Linked DNA regions of Homo sapiens: regions 2 and 3 are each linked to region 1. Evidence: promoter capture Hi-C in 16 types of primary human blood cells and fetal thymus (Javierre and others, 2016). All regions are on one chromosome and are shown on one strand. The core of a region is centred on a gene start or on the middle of the fragment in contact, and the rest is flanking DNA. Distances in the headings are between cores, read along the strand shown.

Region 1 (4,089 bases), core at 484-2,983:
ATTCACTACACAAGCATTTCATGCCACCCTCATAAGCATGCTAACAGGCTGAGGAGGACTTTCAGAGGCAAATGAGCTCTGGAGAGCTCTCCATAGATAAGGATGTCTATACCATGAGGCAGGATGAAAAACATCCACACCAGAGATATAGTCAAGAATGTTGTATATGGCTAAAGGAACTGATTCAGGCTATCATGGAAGGCTTCCTGGAGGAGAGGGACAATAGACATGAGCCTTATAGAATATTACAGCACCTATAGAAAGGGAAGTTTACTTCCATTTGCACAAGCAGATCTCATGGAATGAGCCCTTATGAACACTAAACAGCAATTGTATGTTTTAGCCTTAGTTCTGGCCAGACAGGCCCAAAGAGCTTACATGTGTCATTTCCTTCTCTGAAACTCCACTGCCTCATCTGTAAAGTGGCGGGTGTTAGGTTAGATGAATTTGGGAAGCCACTCCTGCTGGCCTGGCATTTGAACATTCTTTTGTGTTTATCACAAACAGGCAGGATAAAAAATCAGGCTGTCCTCAAAGGAGTGCATAGGCTGGAGACATAGAGAATTGTCTCAGCAAAAAGGCCTTTGAGGATTCATGTCCTTTGTGCCCCCATGGCCACAGCCCAAGCACCCCAGGTCCCCTCAGATGTCTGTCTTGGACATAGCTGCTTGCCTGGAACCCAGCACTGTATCTGACACGATAAATGTTTATTGAAAGAAGTGGTGAATGGATGAGATGACAGAGACTATGACCAGCTTCTTAGCTAAAACTGAAACCCATCCTGCCTCCAGATCATCAGAACCTTTGGGGCTTTTGCTCCTTTTGCTGGCTCTCAGATAAGAGGGAAGATGGCTGAGAGGGAGCTACACTTTCGGAAATCATCTACCCTGGGGCTTCTGGTTTCTGCTGCAATCAGTAGAAAGTGGGTCACAAAACAGCTCTGCAGAGAACAGACCCTTGAGGAAAAGCCTGGATTCTGTGCCAGTTTACATTTATTGATCACCTACTGTGTATCAGTTGTCACATAGCTTAACTCATTTAATCATGGCTTCAGAGGGGTGTACAGGAGAGTGTGAGGGATTTGAGGCTGTAAACCCCAGAGGTGCTGACTAGCTGAGTGACCTCAGGAGAGTTACCATCCCTCTCTGAGTTTCATTTTTAATATCTGTAAGATACAAACGATCCATTTCGCCGGGTTATGGGAACGAAATGAGCACGTGGAAGCGGAGCGCTTCATAAATGCTAGTTATTATTGTTCCTCTGGGCACACAAGCCCGGTCGCCTCCCTCCTGGGCGCACACAGACATGTTCATACTCCCACGTACACGCAGATGCAGAGACGTGTGCAGACGCCAGCCGGAGGAGCACGCGGCGCATCAGACCCAAGACCGTGGCGAGACGGTGAAGAAGCCGCGGGGTCCTCGGCTTCTCTCTTTTTCTCTCGGTTCTTTATGAATGAACTCCAGCCGCGAGTTTTATTTTTTTATGAATGGGAGCCGGAGCACTGAATGAAGCCGGGAGCCAACCCCTACATTCTGATTGGCCCCCGCGGCTGGGAAACTCCGCCCCCCGGCCAGGCCGGACGACTCTCCGGATTGGCGGGCGTGCCCAGCCCTGGGGTTCCATTCACAAAAGTCAATGAAACAAAGGGAAACGGGGGGCGGTGTGGCGGGGCGGGGGGTGGAGAGCTGAGGCCGAGCGAAGGAAATGCACCAATCAGCTGCTCCCCCGGGCTCACAACTGTCTGCTGCGCCCGAAAAACAAGTCGGTGCGCTGGGGACCCGGGGCCGGGGCCGCCTTACTCCGGCCTAGCCCCGCGGCCCTCGGTGCGGGCTCCAGGGCATGCTCGGGACCCCCCGCGGCTCCAGCCCAGACGCCCCGGCCTCAGGTGAGGCTGCGGGAGGGAAAGGGAGGGAGAGTGTCTGTGATTCCCCGCCTCGCCTCCAATGCACACCACACTCACTCTCACCACCCGCCTCCGCAGATTCCAGGGCGGGGGTGGGAGGTGCTGGGATTCAGGGTTGGAGGGGGCGCGGGAGTTGTGGGCATGCGATGGTGTGCGCTTCGCCTGCTCCTCCGCGCGCGCGCGCGTACACACACACACACACACACACACACACACACACACACACACACACGTTCTTATGTAACCGAGCCCGGGTAAAGCAGGGCTGCAGAAAGCAGAAACGGCGAGCCCGGCTCCTGGGAGCAGGTGGGACCTCCTTTGGCCTTTGGCGGGAGGGGAGTGGTGGTGGCGCTCGGCCTGGCAGGCGGAAACCTCGCCATCGCCCCAGTGAGTCGGAGAAGTTTCGCCGTCGGACCCAGAGCCTTGGGACTGCCCCCTCCCCGCCCCCATCGCAGCCCTCCCTGGACGGTGTGCGAACGCAGCCCCCTCCCCCACCAGGTCTCGGCCCCCGCTTGGGGCCCCGGCCGTGCGGCCGGAGGGAGCGGCCGGATGGAGCGGAGGATGAAAGCCGGATACTTGGACCAGCAAGTGCCCTACACCTTCAGCAGCGTGAGCGCCGCGCCGGCCTCCACGCCCGCCCCGCCCCGCACCCAGCCCCTACTCTCACCACAGCCCCCCTCCCCGCAGTCCCAGCGGAGTCCTGGGCTGCCCCGCCCCTGAGTCACCCGAGGACCCCAACCTCGTCCCCCAGACTAAGCGCCTCAGGGTGACTCGCGGGCATTCTCCCCGCTTCTCGCAGAAATCGCCCGGAAATGGGAGCTTGCGCGAAGCGCTGATCGGCCCGCTGGGGAAGCTCATGGACCCGGGCTCCCTGCCGCCCCTCGACTCTGAAGGTAAAGAGCAAGAGAGACAAACCGCGACCCTCCTCCGCCACACACACACACACACACACACACACACACACACACACACGGCCGATTCTGGAACCCCCGCCTGTTTCCCCAAAAAACTCGCCCTCCAAGGGATTTTGGTCATTCTTCTCGGTCCCTACTCCCAAGGCAGGGGAGTCACCGGGTCTTGCTAGGGCCCCTTCTCTCTTACCGTCCCCTCCACCTCACCTCCAATTCCACTATTTACCCCTCAGATCTCTTCCAGGATCTAAGTCACTTCCAGGAGACGTGGCTCGCTGAAGGTGAGTAGTTTTGTGACCTTTTCTATTTTGGGAGGCTGGACAGGGGGACACTCCGTAGCCCCTGGTATTCCACCCTAAGCCCTACACTTCTCCTCTCCCTTCCCTGCCTCAAGGAGTTCTCCAAGGCCCTCTCCCCAGGTCCCTTGCCACTCTACTCACCCCAGCACCCAGCGTGGACACTTATATTGATATTTATTTTCTCTACCCTGAGCCAGGCTTGTGTAACTAGGCTTGAGGATGAATCAGACCATTGTGTGGGGTATTTGCTTATTTGAATGGAACTTGGCCCCAGGCCCATTTTCCTGGTTGAAATTTTCATTTGTAAAGTTTGTTTTGCAGAAGCCGCCAGGCCAAGGTGCATGTTGGGGTGTTGTTGGTGGGGGGTGGGGGGAGAAATTAATTTGTCACTCATCCTCCAGAGTTGCCCAAGCATTGATTCTTATCCCCTGGGTTTCTCTTCTTCCCAACCCCCAGCACCAAACAATTTACTGTCCAAGCCAAAAGAACAACAAAAGTTTAAATAATTCTTTTCGGCAGTCCTTTGGCACAGAGAGCCCAGGGCTCCCTCCCCAAATAGCCTTGATTGTAATTCTAATAGCAAGTGTTCCTCCCTCTTCCATCCCGCTTGAATACCTCTGCCTCCAGGCAAATTCCCCCCTTCCTGTGTGCTGGGGAGTTAGCTGTGAGCTGGCTGGGGTGGGGTCCGTGGCTGGGTCCGTGGCTGGGTCTGATGGGGAAGTGGTGTGTTCAGGAGGTTTCCTGGTTGGATTCTTCAGTGCGTTTTGGTGGGGCCTGAGGGTGTCGCTGGTGGGGCTGCAGGTGGGAGGGAAAATGGTGGTTTAGACAGTCTCTGAGAGGGAAGGGTTAACTACCCCCATCTTAGGGTTTATTTTAACACTATGAAAATGAAGAAGCCAAAACACTAGGAACTCCTTTTTTGAGGTCTTTTTGAGGTATTTTCCTTAGGATCTCCTCATCCCTCCACCCTGGG
Region 2 (4,089 bases), core at 384-2,883, 210 kb before region 1:
GTTAAAAAAAAAAAGTTTTAAACAGAAGCACATGACATATGAAAGCCTGCAGGACTGGTCGTTTTTTTGGCAATTCTTCCACGTGGGACTTGTCCACAAGAATGAAAGTAGTGGTTTTTAAAGAGTTAAGTTACATATTTATTTTCTCACTTAAGTTATTTATGCAAAAGTTTTTCTTGTAGAGAATGACAATGTTAATATTGCTTTATGAATTAACAGTCTGTTCTTCCAGAGTCCAGAGACATTGTTAATAAAGACAATGAATCATGACCGAAAGGATGTGGTCTCATTTTGTCAACCACACATGACGTCATTTCTGTCAAAGTTGACACCCTTCTCTTGGTCACTAGAGCTCCAACCTTGGACACACCTTTGACTGCTCTCTGGTGGCCCTTGTGGCAATTATGTCTTCCTTTGAAAAGTCATGTTTATCCCTTCCTTTCCAAACCCAGACCGCATTTCTTCACCCAGGGCATGGTAATAACCTCAGCCTTGTATCCTTTTAGCAGCCTCCCCTCCATGCTGGCTTCCAAAATGCTGTTCTCATTGTATCACTCCCCTGCTCAAAAGCCTTCCATAGCTCCCCCTTGCCCAGGATCAAGTGCAGTTTCCCTATCTGACATGGGAGGCCTTCTCTGCTTGACTCCCACCTCCCACTCCACCAAGCTTCCTACTGACTCCAAATGGTCATGCAGATCCCTGCTTCCTTAGTTTGCCATCCACACTTAGCACCCCCAATAACTAATCCTCTTTCTTTAGGATTCACATTACTTGTCATCTCTTCCCCTAACCTTCCAGAGATGTTCCAATCTCCCATGATCCCTCTCTCCTCTGAGGTTCCAGCCCCTTTTGTCTACACCACTACTTTGGTTCCTAATTCTGTTTTCCATTTGACAGTCATTCATGGAGGACCAGCCTGGCCAAGTCCTGCTTAGTACTGGCATAGACAACACAAAGCCAAGTACAATTCAGGACCAGCTCACAGGAAACTTCATCTTCTTCGAAGTGTGGATTTGATGCCTCCTGGGTAGAAATGTAGGATCTTCAAAAGTGGGCCAGCCTCCTGCACTTCTCTCAAAGTCTCGCCTCCCCAAGGTGTCTTAATAGTGCTGGATGCTAGCTGAGTTAGCATCTTCAGATGAAGAGTAACCCTAAAGTTACTCTTCAGTTGCCCTAAGGTGGGATGGTCAACTGGAAAGCTTTAAATTAAGTCCAGCCTACCTTGGGGGAACCCACCCCCACAAAGAAAGCTGAGGTCCCTCCTGATGACTTGTCAGTTTAACTACCAATAACCCACTTGAATTAATCATCATCATCAAGTCTTTGATAGGTGTGAGTGGGTATCAGTGGCCGGTCCCTTCCTGGGGCTCCAGCCCCCGAGGAGGCCTCAGTGAGCCCCTGCAGAAAATCCATGCATCATGAGTGTCTCAGGGCCCAGAATATGAGAGCAGGTAGGAAACAGAGACATCTTCCATCCCTGAGAGGCAGTGCGGTCCAGTGGGTGGGGACACGGGCTCTGGGTCAGGTTTGTGTTGTTTGTTTGTTTGTTTTGAGACAGAGTCTCGCTCTATTGCCCAGGCTGGAGTGCAGTGTCACGATCTCGGCTTACTGCAACTTCTGCCTTCCCGGATTCAAGTGATTCTCCTGCCTCAGCCTCCAGAGTAGCTGGGATTACAGGTGCGTGCCACCACGCCTGGCTAATTTTTGTATTTTTGATAGAGACGGGGTTTCACCATGTTGGCCAGGCTAGTCTCGAACTCTTGACCTCAAGTGATCTGCCTGCCTCGGCCTCCCAAAGTGCTGGGATTACAGGCGTGAGCCACCACACCCAGCCCCAGGTTGGTGTTTGAATCTGAGGAGACTGAAGCACCAAGGGGTTAAATGTTTTGCCCACAGCCATACTTGGGCTCAGTTCCTTGCCCTACCCCTCACTTGAGCTGCTTAGAACCTGGTGGGCACATGGGCAATAACCAGGTCACACTGTTTTGTACCAAGTGTTATGGGAATCCAAGATAGGAGTAATTTGCTCTGTGGAGGGGATGAGGGATAGTGGTTAGGGAAAGCTTCACAAAGTGGGTGCTGCTTAGAGATTTTCCAGGTGGAGAAGGGGGCTTCTAGGCAGAAGGCATAGCCCAAGCAAAGACTGCAAGTGCATGGCTGCTCATGGGTAGAAGAGAATCCACCATTCCTCAACATGTACCGAGTCCTTGCCATGTGCAAGGCAACATGGGGGTACCAGGAATTCCAAGCAATGTCCAAACCTAGGGTCTGCTTTCTGGGACCTGAAGATACAGGATGGATCAGCCCAGGCTGCAATCCCATTACCACGAGGGGGAAAAAAACCTGAAGGCTAAATTGTAGGTCGGGTTAGAGGTTATTTATGGAAAGTTATATTCTACCTACATGGGGTCTATAAGCCTGGCGCCAATCAGAAAAGGAACAAACAACAGACCTAGCTGGGAGGGGCAGCATTTTGTTGTAGGGGGCGGGGCACATGTTCTGGGGGTACAGCCAGACTCAGGGCTTGTATTAATAGTCTGAGAGTAAGACAGACAGAGGGATAGAAGGAAATAGGTCCCTTTCTCTCTCTCTGTCTCTCTCTCTCTCACTCTCTCTCTCTCTCTCTCACACACACACACAGACACACACACACGCTCTGTAGGGGTCTACTTATGCTCCAAGTACAAATCAGGCCACATTTACACAAGGAGGTAAAGGAAAAGAACGTTGGAGGAGCCACAGGACCCCAAAATTCCCTGTTTTCCTTGAATCAGGCAGGACTTACGCAGCTGGGAGGGTGGAGAGCCTGCAGAAGCCACCTGCGAGTAAGCCAAGTTCAGAGTCACAGACACCAAAAGCTGGTGCCATGTCCCACACCCACCCACCTCCCACCTGCTCCTTGACACAGCCCTGTGCTCCACAACCCGGCTCCCAGATCATTGATTATAGCTCTGGGGCCTGCACCGTCCTTCCTGCCACATCCCCACCCCATTCTTGGAACCTGCCCTCTGTCTTCTCCCTTGTCCAAGGGCAGGCAAGGGCTCAGCTATTGGGCAGCTTTGACCAACAGCTGAGGCTCCTTTTGTGGCTGGAGATGCAGGAGGCAGGGGAATATTCCTCTTAGTCAATGCGACCATGTGCCTGGTTTGCCCAGGGTGGTCTCGTTTACACCTGTAGGCCAAGCGTAATTATTAACAGCTCCCACTTCTACTCTAAAAAATGACCCAATCTGGGCAGTAAATTATATGGTGCCCATGCTATTAAGAGCTGCAACTTGCTGGGCGTGGTGGCTCACACCTGTAATCCCAGTACTTTGGGACGTCAAGGCGGGTGGATCACCTGAGGTCACGAGTTAGAGACTGGCCTGGCCAGCATGGCAAAACCCCATCTTTACTAAAAATACAAAAATTAGCAAGGCATGGTGGCATGCACCTGTAATCCCAGGTACTCGGGAGGCTGAGACAGGAGAATGGCTTGAACCCAGGAGGCAGAGGTTGCAGTGAGCCAAGATTGTGCCACTGCCCTCCAGCCCTGGCAACAGAGCAAGACTTCATCTCAAAAGAAAAAGGATACTGTCAATCACTGCAGGAAGAACCCAGGTAATGAATGAGGAGAAGAGAGGGGCTGAGTCACCATAGTGGCAGCACCGACTCCTGCAGGAAAGGCGAGACACTGGGTCATGGGTACTGAAGGGTGCCCTGAATGACGTTCTGCTTTAGAGACCGAACCTGAGCCCTGAAAGTGCATGCCTGTTCATGGGTGAGAGACTAAATTCATCATTCCTTGGCAGGTACTGAATCCTTTCTTACGGCTGCCCTCCAATGCCCAATTTCCCTACAATTGTCTGGGGTGCCTAAGCTTCTGCCCACCAAGAGGGCCAGAGCTGGCAGCGAGCAGCTGCAGGTAGGAGAGATAGGTACCCATAAGGGAGGTGGGAAAGAGAGATGGAAGGAGAGGGGTGCAGAGCACACACCTCCCCTGCCTGACAACTTCCTGAGGGCTGGTCATGCCAGCAGATTTAAGGCGGAGGCAGGGGAGATGGGGCGGGAGAGGAAGTGAAAAAGGAGAGGGTGGGGATGGAGAGGAAGA
Region 3 (4,089 bases), core at 709-3,208, 150 kb before region 1:
AGACATTTTCAATGTTGGGGGTCATGAAGGTGAATAAGGCAGCCAAGAAATTGTTGCTACCTAATCATTAGGTGTCAGTTAAACATGCATAGTATCGGCTGGGCGTGGTGCTGTAATCCCAGCACTTTTGGAGGCCGAGGCAAGTGGATTGTCTGAGCTCAGGAGTTCGAGACCAGCCTGGGCAACATGGCAAAAGCCGGTCTCTACAAAAAATGCAAAAATTAGTTGGGTGTGGTGGCACTGCCTGTGGTCCCAGCTACTCGGGAGGCTGAGGTGGCAGGATTGCTTGAGCCCCGAGTTGAGGCTGCAGTGAGCTGAGATTGCACGACGGCACTCCAGTCTGAGTGAAAGAATGAGGACCGGGCGCGGTGGCTCACGCCTGTAATCCCAGCACTTTGGGAGGCCGAGGTGGGCGGATCACGAGTTCGGGAGATCGAGACCATACTGGCTAACGCGGTGAAACCCCGACTCTACTAAATATACAAAAAATTAGCCGGGCGTGGTGGCAGGTGCCTGTAGTCCCAGCTACTCGGGAGGCTGAGGCAGGAGAATGGAGTGAACCAGGGAGGCGGAGCTTGCAGTGAGCCAAGATCACGCCCCACTGGACTCCAGCCTGGGCGACAGAGCGAGACTCCGTCTCAAAAAAAAAAAAAAAAAAGAATGAGACCCCATCTCTAAAAAAAAATAAAAAATAAAATAAACATGCATAGTATCTATTAATGTAAGTTACTCGGCAATATGGACAATGAGTAAGAGGGTAAAATCTGGTTCTGTCACTTACCAGACTTTGAAGGAGTTACTTAATTTCTCTTTGCCTCAGTTTCCTCATCTGCAAAATGAGGACAGTAACAATAACTGCTCCTAGGTTTGTTGTGCAGATTAAACAAATGTATACACCGTAAGGCACTTCAAGAAGGGGTAGTCAGAGTGTTTGCTTCAGTTCCCAGGAGCTGGGAGACCTCACATCCTGGCGGAGCCTCTAGTTCTGGCTGCACAGACCTGACTAGCCTGGCCTGGCCGCAGTAGCTGGCCCTGAGTAGTGACCCGCTCGCCCGCTGCCCTCGGAAGCCTCACTTGGCTGACAAACAGGAAGGTGGCAGGGCTGCCTGCGTGCCCTTGCCGCCCCCACAGCCCTGTGTCTGGCCCCAACCCTCATCTCTACTCGCGGCTGCGGTGAACTTGGATGGTGCTACTCTCACCACAAACCACAGTCCGTCACAAATTGCCGTGTGGTGAGTAGCGAGCACATTTATAATTGATGAAATCAGGGGGTGAGAGCTCATCGCTGAGATGCTCAGTAAACAAAGACCTGGTCCTTGGGTGGGGGAGGGGGTGCTTGAGAGTAAACAAGGGGACAGGAATGTTGGGGGGCTTAACTCTCCTGGAGAGTACATGAAAGGTCTCACCCACCAGCTTTTGTTTTTATTATTAAGCTTATTTTAAAGAGTTTCAATCCTATAGAAAAGTTGCACGAATATATAGACTCACATAGATTCCTTTTTTTTTAGAGACCGGGCCTCAGTCTGTCTCCCTGGCTGGAGTGCAGTGCTGCAATCATAGCTCACTGCAGCCTCAAACTCCTGAGGTCCTCTGATCATCCCACTTCAGCCTCCCAAGAAGCTGGAAGTACAGGCGTATACCACCGTGCCCACGTAATTTTTACTTTTTTTTTTTTTTGTAGAGATGGGGTCTCACTATGTTGCCCAGGCTGGTCTCAAACTCCTGGCCTCAAGTGATCCTCCTATCTCAGCTTCCCAAAATGTTGGGATTTACAGGTGTGAGTCACTGCACCTGGCCTAATAATTATATTCTTCAGTCTTTTCTTACTAGTCTGTTCTTAGTCTCATTCTGTTTAACCATTTGTGAGTAAGCTGCAGAGATCATGAACTTCCCTGCTAAATACCTCAAGGACATTTTCTTACATACCTATAAGAATGACTAACGGCCGGGAGCGGTGACTCATGCCTGTAATCCCAGCACTTTGGGAGGCTGAGGCGGGCAGATCACGAGGTCAAGAGATCGAGACCATCCTGGCCAACATGTTGAAACCCTGTCTCTACTAAAAGTACAAAAACAAGCTGGGTGTGGTGGCACCCGCCTGTAGTCCCAGCTACTCAGGAGGCCGAAGCAGGGGAATCGCTTGAACCCGGGTGGCAGAGGTTGCAGTGAGCCGAGATCACACTATTGCACTCCAGCCTGGTGACAGAGCAAACTCCGTCAAAAAAAAAAAAAAAAAAGAATGACTAATATCAGAAAATGTAATAACACAATACTAATATAAAATCCATGTTCAAATCTCACCAATTATCCAATACAATCCTTTTTAGCAACTCTTTTTTCCCAATCAAACCTGATTAGCCTTTCAATAGTCAAGGTCCCAGGTAATTGTCACCCTTGGTCCCCCACCCCACTGGGGGCTAGAATCCCACAGTCAGGTAGGAGTGATGAAGCTGTGGTCAGATCAGAAAACAAGGCCAAGCTTAGGATAACAGCTGGAGCCAGATGTAGAATCTGGCTAAGTAAGCTCTGGGAGCCCTGGAAGCTGTTTCCAGAAGGTCCCCAGGGATGGGAGCCCAGGTGAGCAGGGAGAGAGGCATGGAAGCTCTTACTGGGATCCCAAGGGAGACAGGAGGCTCTCACACTTCTGTCACAGCAGCCAAACCCTGGGCATGGACAGGTGGGGACAGGAGAGATGTTAGGAAGATAGGGAGGAGATCATCAACATTTCAGGCACAGAAGCTGGCAGAAGAGAGACACCTTTGTCATCTGTATTATGCTAATTGGTTAGTCTGTATATTTATTTAACAAATGTCTATTGCACCCTTACTGTATGCCAAAAACTATTTTAAGTGCTGGGGATACAGACCCAGTTCCAACCTTAAGGTGTTTATGTTCTATTGGGAGATGGGATAGTTTGCACTGTTGTTGTGAAAACGGTCACCCCCCCATCCCCTCCCACTCCCCTTCACAACAGGTGTAAGAGAGTAAACTTGCCCAATCCACTGCTATTACACTTGGCCATGAGACTTCTTTGGCCACTAGAATGTTAGCGGTGTGTCATGATCACCCTTAACCGTGCTGTGAGGTTTGGCTTGGCTTTTAAGTTCCTGCCATTCTCCAAGACAAGCATGTGCCCCAGGGAGCTGCTGGTCCAAGGAGAATGGAGAGAGACATGGAGTCCACCCAAACCCAAGCCATAGCCTGGAGCTGCCCTGCTCGGGCTGACACACAGACTCACAAATGAGAAAGATCAGCACTTGTTTGGAGCCTCTGAGTATCGGGGTGGTTTGTTACACAGCATCATTTCAGCAGTAGCTGACTAAGATGGGTGGAGACAGAATATAAACAAGCCAACTAAGACATGTGTGATGTCTTAGTGATAAGAACAGGAAGACAAAGAAAGCAGGAGAAGAGGAAAAGAGTGGTCAGGGCTGTTATAGATAGGGCAGCCAGGGGAAGCCCCCTGATAAGGGAGCAGAGATCTGAAGGAAGTGGGGGAAGGAGTTATCCAGGGCAGGAATTTCTCAAGGAGGAAACAGCAAGCGCGAGGCTCCCCAGGCAGGCACAAGCTGAGCCCAGGAGCAAGCCTGTATGGCTGGAGCAGAAGGAGCCAGCAGGGATAGGGTGGAGTGATAGGAGATGGTTCAGAGAGGAGGCTGGGGCCAGATCCAGTGGAAAGGACTTAGACATTTATTGGACTTGGACATCATCTCGTATAACTTGTTCCTAGCTGTCTGATGAAAGAGCGGACATGCAGAAAGGGCGCTGGCTGAGCTCCCTGGTTTGGGATGAGTACTGGCAGTGCCAATGTCAGCCACATTCAAGCCAGTGTTCCAGGGGCCTTCTCTCAGTCTCATGCTCCTGCTTTTCCTTGAGATTCTCCCCTCTCTTGTCCCCTCCCTATCTTGGCTCTCTACCCACCACCCCAACACCTCCAGCTCCCCCTCTGCTCCCCCTTTTGCTCCCCTGGACCTTCCTGGCTCTCGGCCTTCAACCCTCAGCCCTCAGCCCCTTTGGCTCTCAAGGTGGGGACCACTCCCACCTCTCCAGCCCTGTCTTGGAGCCCTGGGCATTCTGTCACTAGCTCTC

What was found. Contacts are between HindIII fragments. The CHiCAGO score rates a contact against its expected background, and 5 or more counts as called.
Region 2: a fragment that was not itself captured here is called in contact with the fragment with the promoter of ETV4 in region 1 in 3 of 17 cell types (endothelial precursors, M2 macrophages and M1 macrophages); the score reaches 6.4 in endothelial precursors.
Region 3: a contact is called between a fragment that was not itself captured here and the fragment with the promoter of ETV4 in region 1, in 1 of 17 cell types (endothelial precursors). The highest score is 5.5, in endothelial precursors.

What each region holds. Positions count from the first base shown.
Region 1 is chr17:43,543,984-43,548,072 of GRCh38, reverse strand. ETV4 (ETS variant transcription factor 4) reads left to right here and starts at 1,733. Exons shown (of 13, transcript NM_001079675.5): 1 at 1,733-1,888; 2 at 2,405-2,515; 3 at 2,706-2,799; 4 at 3,051-3,098. The coding sequence starts at 2,456. It also overlaps a transcript of DHX8 not described here. RefSeq lists enhancers at 1,308-1,467, 1,589-2,366, 2,367-3,144 and silencers at 1,558-1,607, 1,628-1,767, 1,818-1,937, 2,388-2,437, 2,478-2,537. The HindIII fragment of the contact is 22,925 bases long and covers 1-4,089 here.
Region 2 is chr17:43,749,919-43,754,007 of GRCh38, reverse strand. SOST (sclerostin) reads left to right here. Exons shown (of 2, transcript NM_025237.3): 2 at 1-270. Among named protein-coding and RNA genes, the nearest start is that of SOST, 6.8 kb to the left of the region's middle. The HindIII fragment of the contact is 864 bases long and covers 1,202-2,065 here.
Region 3 is chr17:43,698,526-43,702,614 of GRCh38, reverse strand. The region is part of intron 3 of LINC02594 (long intergenic non-protein coding RNA 2594); the gene reads right to left. Among named protein-coding and RNA genes, the nearest start is that of LINC02594, 36 kb to the right of the region's middle. RefSeq lists enhancers at 1-744, 862-1,021. The HindIII fragment of the contact is 1,046 bases long and covers 1,436-2,481 here.